2 separate regions of the Homo sapiens genome follow, and region 2 is linked to region 1. Evidence: promoter capture Hi-C in human tissues and cell types (Jung and others, 2019). All regions are on one chromosome and are shown on one strand. The core of a region is centred on a gene start or on the middle of the fragment in contact, and the rest is flanking DNA. Distances in the headings are between cores, read along the strand shown.

What was found. The method cuts DNA at HindIII sites, captures the fragments that hold promoters and counts their contacts. A contact is called where the count stands out against the background at its distance.
Region 2: a fragment that was not itself captured here is called in contact with the fragment with the promoter of CHRDL2 in region 1 in 1 of the 25 tissues and cell types used here (lymphoblastoid cells).

Annotation. Positions count from the first base shown.
Region 1 is chr11:74,727,605-74,733,542 of GRCh38, forward strand. CHRDL2 (chordin like 2) reads right to left here and starts at 3,822. Exons shown (of 11, transcript NM_001278473.3): 1 at 3,203-3,822. The coding sequence starts at 3,284. The HindIII fragment of the contact is 7,141 bases long and covers 1-5,938 here.
Region 2 is chr11:75,267,401-75,274,107 of GRCh38, forward strand. It overlaps ARRB1 (arrestin beta 1), which reads right to left. Exons shown (of 16, transcript NM_004041.5): 11 at 6,674-6,707; 12 at 5,495-5,578; 13 at 4,301-4,324; 14 at 1,489-1,559; 15 at 252-303. Among named protein-coding and RNA genes, the nearest start is that of TPBGL, 30 kb to the left of the region's middle. RefSeq lists an enhancer at 5,159-5,660. The HindIII fragment of the contact is 4,235 bases long and covers 3,111-6,707 here.

The DNA of each region.
Region 1 (5,938 bases), core at 2,572-5,071:
ATGTTTCTCAGGCTGGTCTCAAACTCCTGGGCTCAAGTAATCCATCCACCTCGGCCTTTCAAAGTGCTGAGATTACAGGCGTGAGCCACTGCACCCAGCCCCATGTTTTTACTTGGTAACTGACTCTCCTGAAAGCAGGATTGGATGGAGGGAGGGAAGAGAAAGCAGAGCATACTAGACACCTACAAGGGACAATTAGGGAAGAGAACCAAAGAGAGGAGCTGAGAGGAGTAGGGCAGAAAGCACTGAAGAGGGAGGTAAGAAGATAGTAGGCCTCTGGTGGACACTCATCCACAAAGAGCCGAGTGTCTAGAGTGACCAGCATCACACATGTCTGTGGCTCAGCCTGGGGCTGGGACCAGTACTGGTCAGTAACCAGGTCAGGGACCCAGCCTGGGTAAGGGGTCTTGTATAGGGGTGGAATTGGTGTTCAACCTGTGGCCAAGGTTGGAGGACTAGGGCTTGGCTTGTGGCTGGAATTGCAACTTAGTCTGTATTGGGATTAGGGCTCAATCTATGGCTGGAAATAGAACCAAAGAGAGAATACTTTTTGTTTGAATAGCCTGAGGAGCAAACTGTTACCTGTGTTCACAGGCCCTTGGCATTCTTCAGGGCTCCGACACCTCAGGAGCCTGATACCACACAGACTTGAACATTTCCATCCGTTAGCACTGTTTCTGAAAGCACCTAAGATATCACCAGATTTCTGACCCACAACAGGCTTGAGATCTCACTTAAACTAAGATGAGGACCTTTGTAAGAGACCTTCAAATAGCATCTTGGCAAATGACTATAGGATCCTTTCTAGATTCATAGGCTGTCAGCACCAAACAAAATGAGGCTCAGATAAAGAAGTGGTCTGTCCCAACTCACACAGCCAATAAGTGACAAATCAGGGTCCAGGACCCAGGTCTGTTCTGTTTTTTGTTGTTGTTGTTGTTGTTGTTTTTTAAGAGATGAGGTCTCACCATGTTCCCCAGGCTAGCCTTGAACTCCTGAGCTCAAGGGTTCCTCTCCCTCTCAGCCTCCCAAGTAGCTGGTGACTGGAACTACAGGTGTGTACCACTGTGCCTGGCTTTTGTTCTTTTCTTTAATAAATTTGCTGTGTGACCTTGGGCAAGTCACTCTTCTCTTCTGGGCTTCAATTTAACTCTAAGTATAGGTATATTGATGGGTAGAAGCAGATGGTTTTTGATAGTTTCACCAGCTCTAACATCCAGGAATCTTAACATTCTCCAATGAGTGCCAGTCCACCTCACCCTAATGAGTTGGCTCCAAGTCTTTTTCTCACATGTCTGGAGATCTGTATTTACAAGGCTGTAGGGAAGATGGAATACTGGCAGGACCTGCTGAGAGGTACAGAGCTGAAGGCCAGGGAGGCACAGACGAGGGAGATCAGAGTGGATCAAGTCACCGGGGAGAGTTTGCTTGAAGAGGTGTGACCTAGGCAAGGCCATGAAAGGCTGACAAGATATGGGAAGCAAAGAAGCAGGGTGTGGGTAGGATAACAGTCTGGTTCTAGGACATCTTTCCAAGATGCATCAAGGGCAATGATATCTGGAGAAAAAATTGCAGGGACTAAGAACAAGGTGTCAAGTGGATGGGAGGCAGGCATGGAGGGCATCCTGTGCAAAGTCTCTTTTAAGAAATAGGAGGCAGGTGTTAGGAGGAAACCCTCAGGGTTCAAGAAAGCGGAAGAGACATTTATTAAGTACACAGCATTGTGCTGGGCACTTTAATCCGTTACCTCCTTTAATCCTCCCAAGAACCCTGCAAGTTCTGGATTAGTATCTCTCTTAGACAGATTAGGAAATTGAGGCTCAGAGAAGTTATGACTTACAAAAAGTCACACAGCTCTAAGGGGCACGGCCAGGATTTGAATACAACACTGAGCTAATTCCATTACTTGTTCTATGTAATGGAAAGACTTATGTGAGTCTCATGCTGCTGGCAGGCCAGAGACACTCAGCCTGCTCTCATGAGCAGAAACAAGACCGTAACAAAGTCCAGCACTACCAGCTCCAGAATGTCACGTGCAAAAGAAAGGCATAGATGGAGGAGCTGAGCTGGGGAGAGGAAAGAGCACCAGACTAGGAGTTGGGAACGCAGGGTCTTAATCCCAGGCTGTGCCATGTATGTCCTGGAGAAACCCACTGCTTGAATGAAGCTCCTTTCTTCTGATTAAGAGAATGTGGTTTGGTTTTCCATCCTCACAGCATTCTAAGAGATTGGCTGGGCATGGGGAGGGGGGACCACCAGCCTATTGTGGGCGCAGTGAGGAAACTGAGGCTCAGATTGATGATGTAACCTGTTTGATGTTACACTGTATCTATGTGGAAAAGCATAATTGGGAACTGATTTTTTTTGGAAGCTATCAAGCACCAGTCTTGTGCTAGCTGCTTTACCTCTTTTCTCTAATTTAATCCTATCAACTCTCCTAGGATTTTTACTTCCGCTTTATAGATTAGGAAACCCAGGGTCAGAGAGGTGCACTCTGTGACGGCCTCCCAGCAGCTGGCATTCAGCGGGGCTGGGATGGTGAAGACGCTGGTCTATCTCACTGTGCCCTGCCGCCTCCCAGAGTCTCACACTGCAAATTCAGGGTTCCTTCTAGACAATGTGAGGCAGGGAATAAAGCATGGGATCTGGAACTAGAGTTCTGGCTTTGGATGGCTTACCCGCTCTGTAAGTTTTAGCAAGTTCCTCCTTGCTCAGCCTAAGTTTTCTCATCTGTAAAGTGCGAATGATAATACCCACCTCACTGGAGAGTTGCGAGGATCAAAAGAGAGAAAAGAATGGGAAGGTTATCCTAATTACCTCTCATTTCTGTCCAATGGCTCTTTCCAAAGGCAAAAAGCCTTTTCTTCTCCATCACACTCCTTACCTGTAGCCAGACATACCCGACTCCCTCCTAGGAACAGTAAGTCCTCCCCCAACCCAAAACACAGTGCCCTGCCCTCTCCCCCCGCTGCCCTTGGTGCCCCTCCTCAGGTCCCTGGCAGCAGCCCTCTCTCAGTTCTGAGTTGTGCCGAGTTCCTCCGGTCCCCCGGCCCATACTGGTCCTCACGGAGTCTCCACCCCTCCGGCACAGGTGCTGCCTGGACGGCTGTCAGAAGAGCTTGGGGTCCAGGTCCTGGCGCTGTCCCTCACATTCCAGGGGCCGCATCCCTCCTCTGCCCACCCAGCCTCCCGGTCTACTTACGGGCTCGAGCGTGGGAGTCCAGGGGGAACCAGAGCAGCGCGAGTCCCAGCAAGGAGGAGAGGACCCTCACCTCGGGAACCATCCTTTCCCCAGGGTCAGGCCGCTGGTCCGGGAGCGGAGTCGGGAGGAAGGGAGACGAAAAGGACACGGAGGCACAGGGGCCACAGATCAACCCACAGACCCCAGGAGGTCTGCTGCTAGAGCGGGGTCGGAGAAGGGCCAGGAAGCAGCGGTGGGCAGGAAAGGAGGGCAGGAAGGGAGGTCTAAGGTGGGAAGAAGAGAAAGGTGGAAAGAGAACGCGGGGAAAGGAGGGAGAGATGGAGAGACGAAGGAAGGTCCAGCAGAAGGGAGAGGCGATCAAAGAAAGGGGGAAGGTGAGAGGGAGAGGAGGAGAAAGCAGGGAGAGGACCGGCGTCTGCCGAGCGCGCAGCGCCGGGCGAGGCGCGCGGGACCAGCGGGTGTTGCGGGCGCGCGGGCTAGAGGCGGCCGGCGCCCCCTGCTCGGTGGGCTCGGGGTCGGGCCGCGGGGGCCTGGGGCCCGGCGGGGCGGCGGTCCCAGCAGCGGCGGCGGCGCGGCGGCCGCGGAGGGAGGCTGAGCGCGGGCCGGCTGTGCTCGCCAAGGGCTTCAGGCGCCGCGCTCGGGCGCATTTGTACTTTGCCGCGGGAAGCAGGCAGCCCGGCCTGGCGCTGGCCTAGCGCTGGCGCCTCCTCTGGGGCACCGCGGGCTCGGTGGATTGGCCACCCGAGAAACAGGCCCACTTTTTCCCCTCCTCTCTTGTGCGGGTCTCCGGGACGGACGCTCCAGGCGCGGCGCCGAGTGGAGGCGAGGGGGCTGCGGAGGGGGAAGGGGCCACGCGGGCCACGGGGTTTAACCCCTGACTCCCCGCGACGCCAAGAATGCAGGAGGGCAGAGTTGAGGGAGACCTCAGGTGGAACTTTCAGGTGGGGAAGGCTGAGCTGTCGGGGCTGCGGGTACCGGGAAGGCTCAGGGTAAGGCGCTCGGCGGTGCGTGCCCGGAACTCCGCAGATGGATGGAATCAGAACACTGGCGTTCTTAATTCAGTTTGTGGTCTACAGCACGCCACCGGAGAGTCTGTTTTCCCAGCTTTAAAATGGGCATTTTAAGATCTTAAAATATCTCTACTATCTTCCCACGAGTGTTGCTAAGATGAAATAAGGTAATGAACGTCGAAACACTCACCCCACAAAGAGAAGGGGTCCTAATTCCAGGTGCCTACAATACCAGTGGCCCCTGTCCCCACTCCGTCTGCCCATGCGCCATTCTCAGGAAAGTCAGCCCATAGGGATCCTGTGCCTTCCCCTGGAGGTCTTCCTCTGCTCCCCGCTCCCACTCCCGAATCAAGGCAAGATCTCTCCTTTGCCTTTGCAGGTGAGGCCTGCACTTCTCTGGGAGTGATGGTCACCTTCAGTCATCTTTAGGGAGAGCTGATTGTCAAAGAGTTTTCTTTCCCACCAGAAGGGGAGCTCCCTGAGGACAGGGCCCTGACACCCTCCAGCCCTCAAATGGTGCTCCATCTCTTGTGTTGAATGAACACATGCACTAATAGGACACTAAGAAGAGAATAGCCAGCTCTGGCCAGACCAGAAACACACAAGCTCTGAAATCAAAAGGGCAGAGTCACTGTCCTGGCTCCATCCGTAACTTGTTGGGCCACTTTGAGTAAATACATCTATCCTTGCTTTGGACCTCAACTTTCTGCCCAGCTTCTCTTGAAGAGCTAATGGAGACTCCAAAGAGTGCCAGAGGAGTATGAGGTGGGAAGGGATGTTGAGCCATATCCCACTCTGGTAGGGAATCATATTTCCGGGTTTAAACACTTGGCTGGCTGGCTGTAAAGGTATCTTTCTGGGCCAAGGCTGGGCTCCCCATTGCACTGTGCTTTCAGGGTATTACCCCCAAGATCTCCACCCTCCAAAAGAGAGCAGTAGGAGGAACCAGTGATCCCCAAACTGGCCCTTCCTAGGGCTCTCAGGATCAGGGACAAACATGATCTGTCCAGTGCCCTTCAGGCTTAATTTCTACTCTAATCTGGCCAGTCTCTTCCTTTCCCCTGAGTATTCTTTATTTTAACAGATAGTGCAAGCTTATGCATGTCACCATGCTTCCCTTTTTGCCTTTGCTTCCAGGGATCTCAGAGTTAAATCCTGTGCTGCTTAATTGCATAAACAATCTCATCCCAAGGGTTTGGGACAGTGATCTTTTCCTTTCTCTTTGTTTAAAATGTGCTGTGCACATATATTCATGTCTTAGATGTAAGAAGTGGATTAAGATGGGTTCCCCTACATCCTGCCCATCATACTTCAAAAAAGGCCTCCACCATCTCAGCCCTCCTGTCCATCCCTATTATCCCCAGAGTTGAGGCCAACTTCATTCCTTTTTTTTTTTTTTTTGAGATGGAGTTTTGCGCTTGTCGCCCAGGCTGGAGTGCAGTGGCGTGATCTGGGCTCACTGCAACCTCTGCCTCTGGGTTCAAGCGATTCTTCTGCCTCAGCCTCCCGAGTAGCTGGGATTACAGGCATGCACCACCTATAATTTTTGTATTTTTAGTAGAGATGGGGTTTCGCCATGTTGGCCAAGCTGGTCTTGAACTCCTGACCTCAGCTGATCCACTCACCTCAGCCTCCCAAAGTGCTGGGATTACAAGCATGAGCCACCGCACCCGGCCATCTTCATTCCTTACTTGAACTTTCCCAACAGCCTCTTACCAGGTCTCCT
Region 2 (6,707 bases), core at 3,978-6,477, 540 kb after region 1:
CGGACGGACGTGCAAGGACGAGGGAGGAAGACAGACCCCACCAAGGCAGGAGGAAGAGGAACAGGCACGGAGGGTCCTTCAAGTCACATGCAGGCAAGCGGGTTGCTGAAGAGGCGAGCAGAGGTGGCTCTCAGCAGACGGGGTTAGACCAGCGGCTCCTCAGGAGTTAATAAGCATATATGCAAATGACCCCCTCCACCCCGCCCACCCGCGGCCCACCCCCGGATGTCTGCAGGCAGGGTTCAGCTTACTTTGTGTCAAGTTCTATGAGATTGGTATCTACTGGCGTCTCGTTCTCTGGAACTAAACACAGGGTGGGTGGGCAGGGTGTCCAGGGATTAGTGAGTGGATGAGCACGGGGCGAGTAAGCACAGGCCCCCACCCTGGGACAACCAGACTAACATGAGAAGGGCAAAGGATAAAGGGGAATGGAGATGGGGGAGGACTCATTCCTGGTACTGAAACACCCCAAATCATCTGAAAGGCAGGGAGGATGGCACCAGGAGGGCCCCGGATCCCCACTGCAGCCCCAGAAGAACAGAAAATCCTCTAAACTTCTGTTTCTTTTGACAGGTCTCCAACATGAATTACATTAATTCCTTGCATGCATGCCATTCACCAATTCTAAGACAATCTTTTTTATATTTTCCTTCACATTTTAACATCTCCAAATTTGGAGTGTGTCTTACCGTCGATGGCACTGCACAGTTTAACCATGGAAGTTTTTTCCTAATTGTACCTACTATTATGTTGTCTCTCTCCACTGAAAGTCTCAGATTCAATGAAATATGACCAATCTGCTATCACTTGAAAAACAGGCCAGGCCAGGCATGGTAGCTCATGCCTGTAATCCCAGCACTTTGGGAGGTTGAGGCGGGAAGATCACCTGAGGTCAGGAGTTTGAGACCAGCCTGGCCAACATGGTGAAACCCCGTCTCTACTAAAAATACAAAAATCAGCCAGGTGTGGCGGCAGCCGCCTGTAATCTCAGCTACTCGGGAGGCTGAGGCAGGAGAATCTCTTGAGCCTGGGAGGCGGAGGTTGCAGTGAGCTAAGATCACGTCACTGCACTCCAGCCTGGGCAACAGAGTGAGACTGTGTCTCAAAACCAAAAAAAAAAAAAAAAAAAAAAAAAAGAAGAAGAAAAACATGACAATAGCGTGTCCAACGGTCATCTTATCCAAGCAGCCCCTTCCCCTACTTCCAAACGGGATCCAGCCCATGCCTGGGTGCAAGATAGAGGCTCAAAGCATGGCCAATGAGTTCCCTTCTCCACTCCTGGCCTCCCTCTCCCATGGGGAACAGGAGCCACGCCTCACTGTCTCCTGGTGGGGTCAGAAGCAAATCGAGTTCTGGACCCCACAAAAGATCTGGGGACCCGAGAAAAGGGTGACTGGGCTGAGGGCGAACCCGGGGCGGGGTGGGTTACAGGGTCACGTGGCAGCTGCTAGAGAACCCCTACCCCAGAGACCTACAGATTCTGCTCACCTTCCCGATGCGGGGGTTCCTCTTTGGGCTTGGGGTGCATTAGGGTGAAGGGCAGTTCCACGGCCACGTCGCTGAAACAGAGACCCAGACCCAGTGAGCCTTGAGCGGACTCACAGGCTGTGAGACTTGATGTCGATGCCCTGTCAGTCCGAGGACTGCAGAGGGTTTTGCCGTCAGAGGAGGTAGATCCAAAAGATGCCCTCCAGCCCCAGTTCTGCCACTCGGAGCCTCGGTCTGCCTGGGAGCTGGACGAGGAGACTTCCTCTGGTCCCAAAAAGAAATGGAAGCCTCCTCTTTCCTGAGAAGGCTCTCTGGGTTCCCACGGGCTGGGAAGAGGCCCAGGGGTGGGAAAGGATTGCCCGGGGCAGCATGCACCGTGGTCACTGCGGGGCTCCAGAGGTGCCCTGGGACCCCCCCCCACCTCAAATCGCCACAGCCACCCTCGCCTCCCCTGACACTGCCCTTCCCAACTTCCAGGTCGGAGCTCCTCCCACCCTCACGCCATCCCATCTCCCAACACCTCCAGGGTGCTCTTGTAAAAGTGCTCAGGTGACCCTAGCACCCCTGCAATCTGGATGAAGCACTGTTGAGGTCAGTTTAGTCAGGTTTAGGATGGCCCCAGGGCCCAAGGCTGATTACACTGTGGGGATGCAGGGGAAAGCGGCCGGGAAGACCCAGCCACCAGCCAGTGCTTCTGATGGGGCTTTCTCTGTACTTGGCCCTGATGGACAGAATAAGAGAAGGTATTCACATGGTACTGACCCTGTGCCAAGGATTACTGTAAGCCCCTTCCATAGAGTAACTCATTTAATCCTCGCAACAACCATATTATTATCCCCAATGTACAGACTGGGACATTGAGGCATGAGGAGATTAAAATATCTTGCCCAAGGCCACACAGCTATTAATGGTTATTATTAGATTCTGGCTCCATAACCACACCCTTGATCACTGTGTGACAGTAGCAGAATTGAGACTAACAAAAGCAACCCTGAAGGCTCCTCTCGGCTTGGGGTGACATCACCCTAGGAGACCACCCAACTGCGAGTGCCTACAGGCACAAGCCACATCCCACTGATCTTGTTGTCCAGAGCCCAGTTGGGAAAGAGGAAGGGACAGGGAATGGAGTGGTCAGAGGCACAAGCCGTGCAATTAGAAAGGTCTGTTCCACCAGCCTCGCCACCCGCTGGTGCAGCACTTTCTAGCTTTGAGTCTCACTGAGCTCAACTTGGAACAAAGCCTGTCTTCTAGAACCACGGGAACTTCTGGGAGATGAGGCAGCTAAAGAGCTGAGTTAAACTGTGAAGCTTGACCAGGCGCAGTGGCTCACGCCTGTGATCCTAGCACTTTGGGAGGCCAAGGCGGGCAGATCCCTTGAGCTCAGGAGTTCGAGACCAGCCTGGGCAACCTGGTGAGACACTGCCACCACCACCCATCTCTACTAAAAATACAAAAATTAGGCTGGGCGCGGTGGCTCACGCCTGTAATCCCAGCACTTTGGGAGGCCGAGGCGGGTGGATCATGAGGTCAGGAGTTTAAGACCAGCCTGGCCAAGATAGTGAAATCCTGCCTCTACTAAAAATACAAAAATTAGCCGGGTGTGGTGGCGGGTGCCTATAATCCCAGCTACTTGGGAGGCTGAGGCAGAGAACTGCTTGAACCTGGGAGGCAGAGGTTGCAGTGAGCCAAGATCGTGCCACTGCACTCCAGCCTACCCGACAGAGTGAGATTCTGTCTCAAAAAAAAAAAAAAAAATTAGCTGGGCATAGTAGAGCACACCTGTAGTCCCAGCTACTCAGGAGGCTGAGTTGGGAGGATGGCTTCCACCCAGGAGGCAGAGAAGGTTACAGTGAACCAAGTTTGTGCCACTGCACTCCAGTCTGGGCAATAGAATCAGACCTTGTCTCAGAATAAAAAATAAAAATAAAAATGTGAAGCTTGTGCCTGCCAGAATCGTTACTTAAGTCCCCTCATTGGGAACCTGGGGGTTTTATAAGGCTGTCAGAGCTATTTGGCCTTTTTTTCCTTCTCTTTTTTTTTTCCTTTTGCTTTGGGGATTGCTTCAGAATGGAGCTGGTGGAAGACTGGGTTTGCCAACATTTTAGTGGAAGAATCTGGATCTTAACCTTCTACCGGGCCAGGAACGATAAGGTCAGGGACCACATCTGATTCCTCTCTGGGACTCTGGCACTCAGCACCAGCCTGGACGCAAGCCTGGGTTGAGGAAATCTTTGCTGAATGATATGGAACTGAATTGAATTGAATGAATTTCACCTGTCAAATTAGTTTAAGATTTCTTAGGATGAGCCACACTGCCATCTTGTGACAGAAGGAGGCCAAACTGCTGTGTTTGGGGTACATGCATTTTTGGAATATAAGTGCATCCAGCTGGCTGCAAGGAGACCTTGTTTACAAAATAGGATCTCCTGAGGACCTCTCCTTAGCAACACTTGGCCAGCAGTTCCCTCCTCACTAGTGTAGAAGTTTGAAAGCCATGAAGTCTGCATTTCTCCAAAAGCTCCTATAATTCAGGTGATCAGTAATTCAGACAGCTCTCTTGGGGGCCACTCCCTGTATCAGTGTAATCAGGCTTTGCTCTCTGTAAAGATCCCTGTCACTCAGGTGGGATGGAAGAGCAAGGTGAGGTTTGTTAAGGAGAAATTGTGTCTCCCAGCTCACACCTGAACCTGGCTATCTGAAATGACCACTAAGATTCCTTCCAACCCAGTGCCCTGTGATTCTGGTCAGTCAAGCCAATGGGCTCCAGGCCCTCCAGGAAGGTGGGTGAACCAGGTGGAAGGGAGGAATTTACCTGGATGCAAGATCTCCCAACAGGCTGGGTGGGTCAGAGGAGGCAGGAGAAGTGGTCAGGAGAGAGTTCAGAGAGGAAGAAAACAAAAAGCACATTCATTCACCACTTCTGCTGTCCCCCGGATAGAGAAGACCCACGGGACACACTCCCACCCACCCCCCTGCACAGCCCTGACTGCTCTTTCAGGGATACACCGAAATGGCATTAGCCCTGCCCCGAGGGACTGGGATCCAGACCCAGCTCAGCAAACCCCTGAGCCCCAGGATCCTCATCTGTCAAGGCAGTGTAAAAATTAACCCCAGTGCTGCCTGTCCCAAGGGAGGCCGGACTATCTAAAGGCAGAGGGAAGGACTCCGGGGTTGCCAAGAATGTTTGAGGGACTGTGGGTCCTGAAAGGTCACCAGACACAGGATTTGGGATTTGTAATTTTGAGATGTCCTATTATATAAGGTCAGGATTACATACTGCCACCTGCCAAGAGGCATTCTTCTAATAATCAAGGAGACCCAATGTCTAATGGGATTTAGCTTTTCAATCTTTTCATAGAAATTTATGAATTAAGTTACAAAAAAGAAACACAGTAGTTTGTTTGTTTGTTTTTCTCCCTGAGCTTCCACCAAACTATGCTCCAGGGCAGGGCAGTCTGGTCCACCACTATGACCTGAGTTAGGAGAGGAGATTTCAGGCAATGTTTGGGGCACTGTCTGGGCCTCTGTTTCACCATCTGTAAAATGGGAAAGCTGACTAGCAAATCCCCAATCCAGCTCTGGGTTCTGAGCCCTTTTAGCTGTTTCCTCAGAAAATCAGCTTGGGCATGCATGGGGGTGGGTGCTATGCCCAAAGTGTGATAAGGAGATGGCACCCCTGGGGACCCCACAGCAAAGACTCTGAGGACGCCGTCCCCTGGGCATGGCCAATCCTCAGTGCGAGCCCAGACCTAGGATAGAGGAGGAGGAGAGAGAGAAAGAGATGGGTGGGGGTAAGAGAGGGGCTGAGGGCCAAGGAAGGAAGAGAGGGAAAGCGGGCGGGGGAGAAAGAGGAACAGAAGGGAGGAAAAGAAGGGACAGGAGGTTCCTCCTCCAAGGTGGATGCAGCTAAAAGGGCTGCAAACAGGCAGAATGGGGCAGGGGCCTGTGGGCACCTGGGACGCTCCCCTCTGCACTCCGGGGTCTTGGGCTTGGCTGGAGCACTCACCCGCCCCGAGACACCACCAGCTTCACTTTCACTTTGTAGGAAACAATGATCCCCAGGATCTCACGGTTGGCACCTTCCCTCAACCTGCAAAGTGACACAGGGGAGCCAGTTCAGGGGCCTTGCCAGGTGGGCGAGACACCTCAGGGGTGGGTATGCTGGGGGGCAGTGGCCGTCCATCCCCCATCTGGCTAGCCACTCAGCTACCATGTCCAATAGAGCCCAGTGGAGATGAGGAAGGCGAGCAGTGCCCTTAGGTAGCAGGGACCCAGAGCCCCGGTTCCAAGTCTGACTGTGAGACTCGCTCACTGTGTGGCCCTGCTGAGCCCCTCTCCCTGCCCAGGCCAGCGTCCCCGCCATGAGGGCCAGGCTCCTCCTCCCCTCAGATGGATTCTGCTTCTCTCAGCAACCCATGGGCAGAAAGGGCCACACGGGGAGTTCACAGAGGGCGAGGCAGCTGGGGTGGGGTGGGGTGGGGGCCATCAGAGAAGGACTTCTCCGCAGAGGTGGTGCTTCAGCTGGGTCTTGAAGATGGGTAGGGTGTGAGCCAGGGTGGAGACAGGGCAAAAAGCTTCAGGTAAGTGGGAGGCTGTGCAGGGGCTGCTGAAGAGAGCTGAGTCTGTGCTGGGAGTGGCGGCTGCTCTAGACGTAGGCCAAAGCCCCACTGAAGGACCACACTGGCAAGAGGGCAAGATGGCATCCCCATAGCCAGGGCTCTGCTGGAGCAGAGTAGCCTAGAGGCGTCCACGATGACTGTGCAGCAGGAGTGACCAGATGCCCTGGGACCCCTGACTTGGAGGGGCACCCCATGTTGGGTCTAACCCAGCTCACCACCCTGGTCTCTCCTCAGGGACACCCCATCTGACTGAAGGCATTACGTCAGAAGCTGCCACCTCTTGCAGGAAGCCTTCCCAGGTTGCCCTCCCCCAGGCATGGTAGCAGAGCCCAGCACTGCCTGAGTGAGCTGGCCTAGTGGTCCATCTTATTCTCTCAGTCACCCCTGGGTAGGGTTGGGAGTAAGGAGGCAGCTTCCCTGACAAGTCAAGCACCTGAGGACAGGCCCTGACAAGGCTATGGAGAGGGTAGCCTGAGCCTTGTCTTTGAACTGGGGGGACCAAGGAGGGTGTGGCCCCATCAGGCAAGATGCACTAGGAGCCCAGGGCTAGGAGGGCAGGTCCTCACAGGGTGCTAGAGGCCAAGTTCGTGTCTTCGTGCT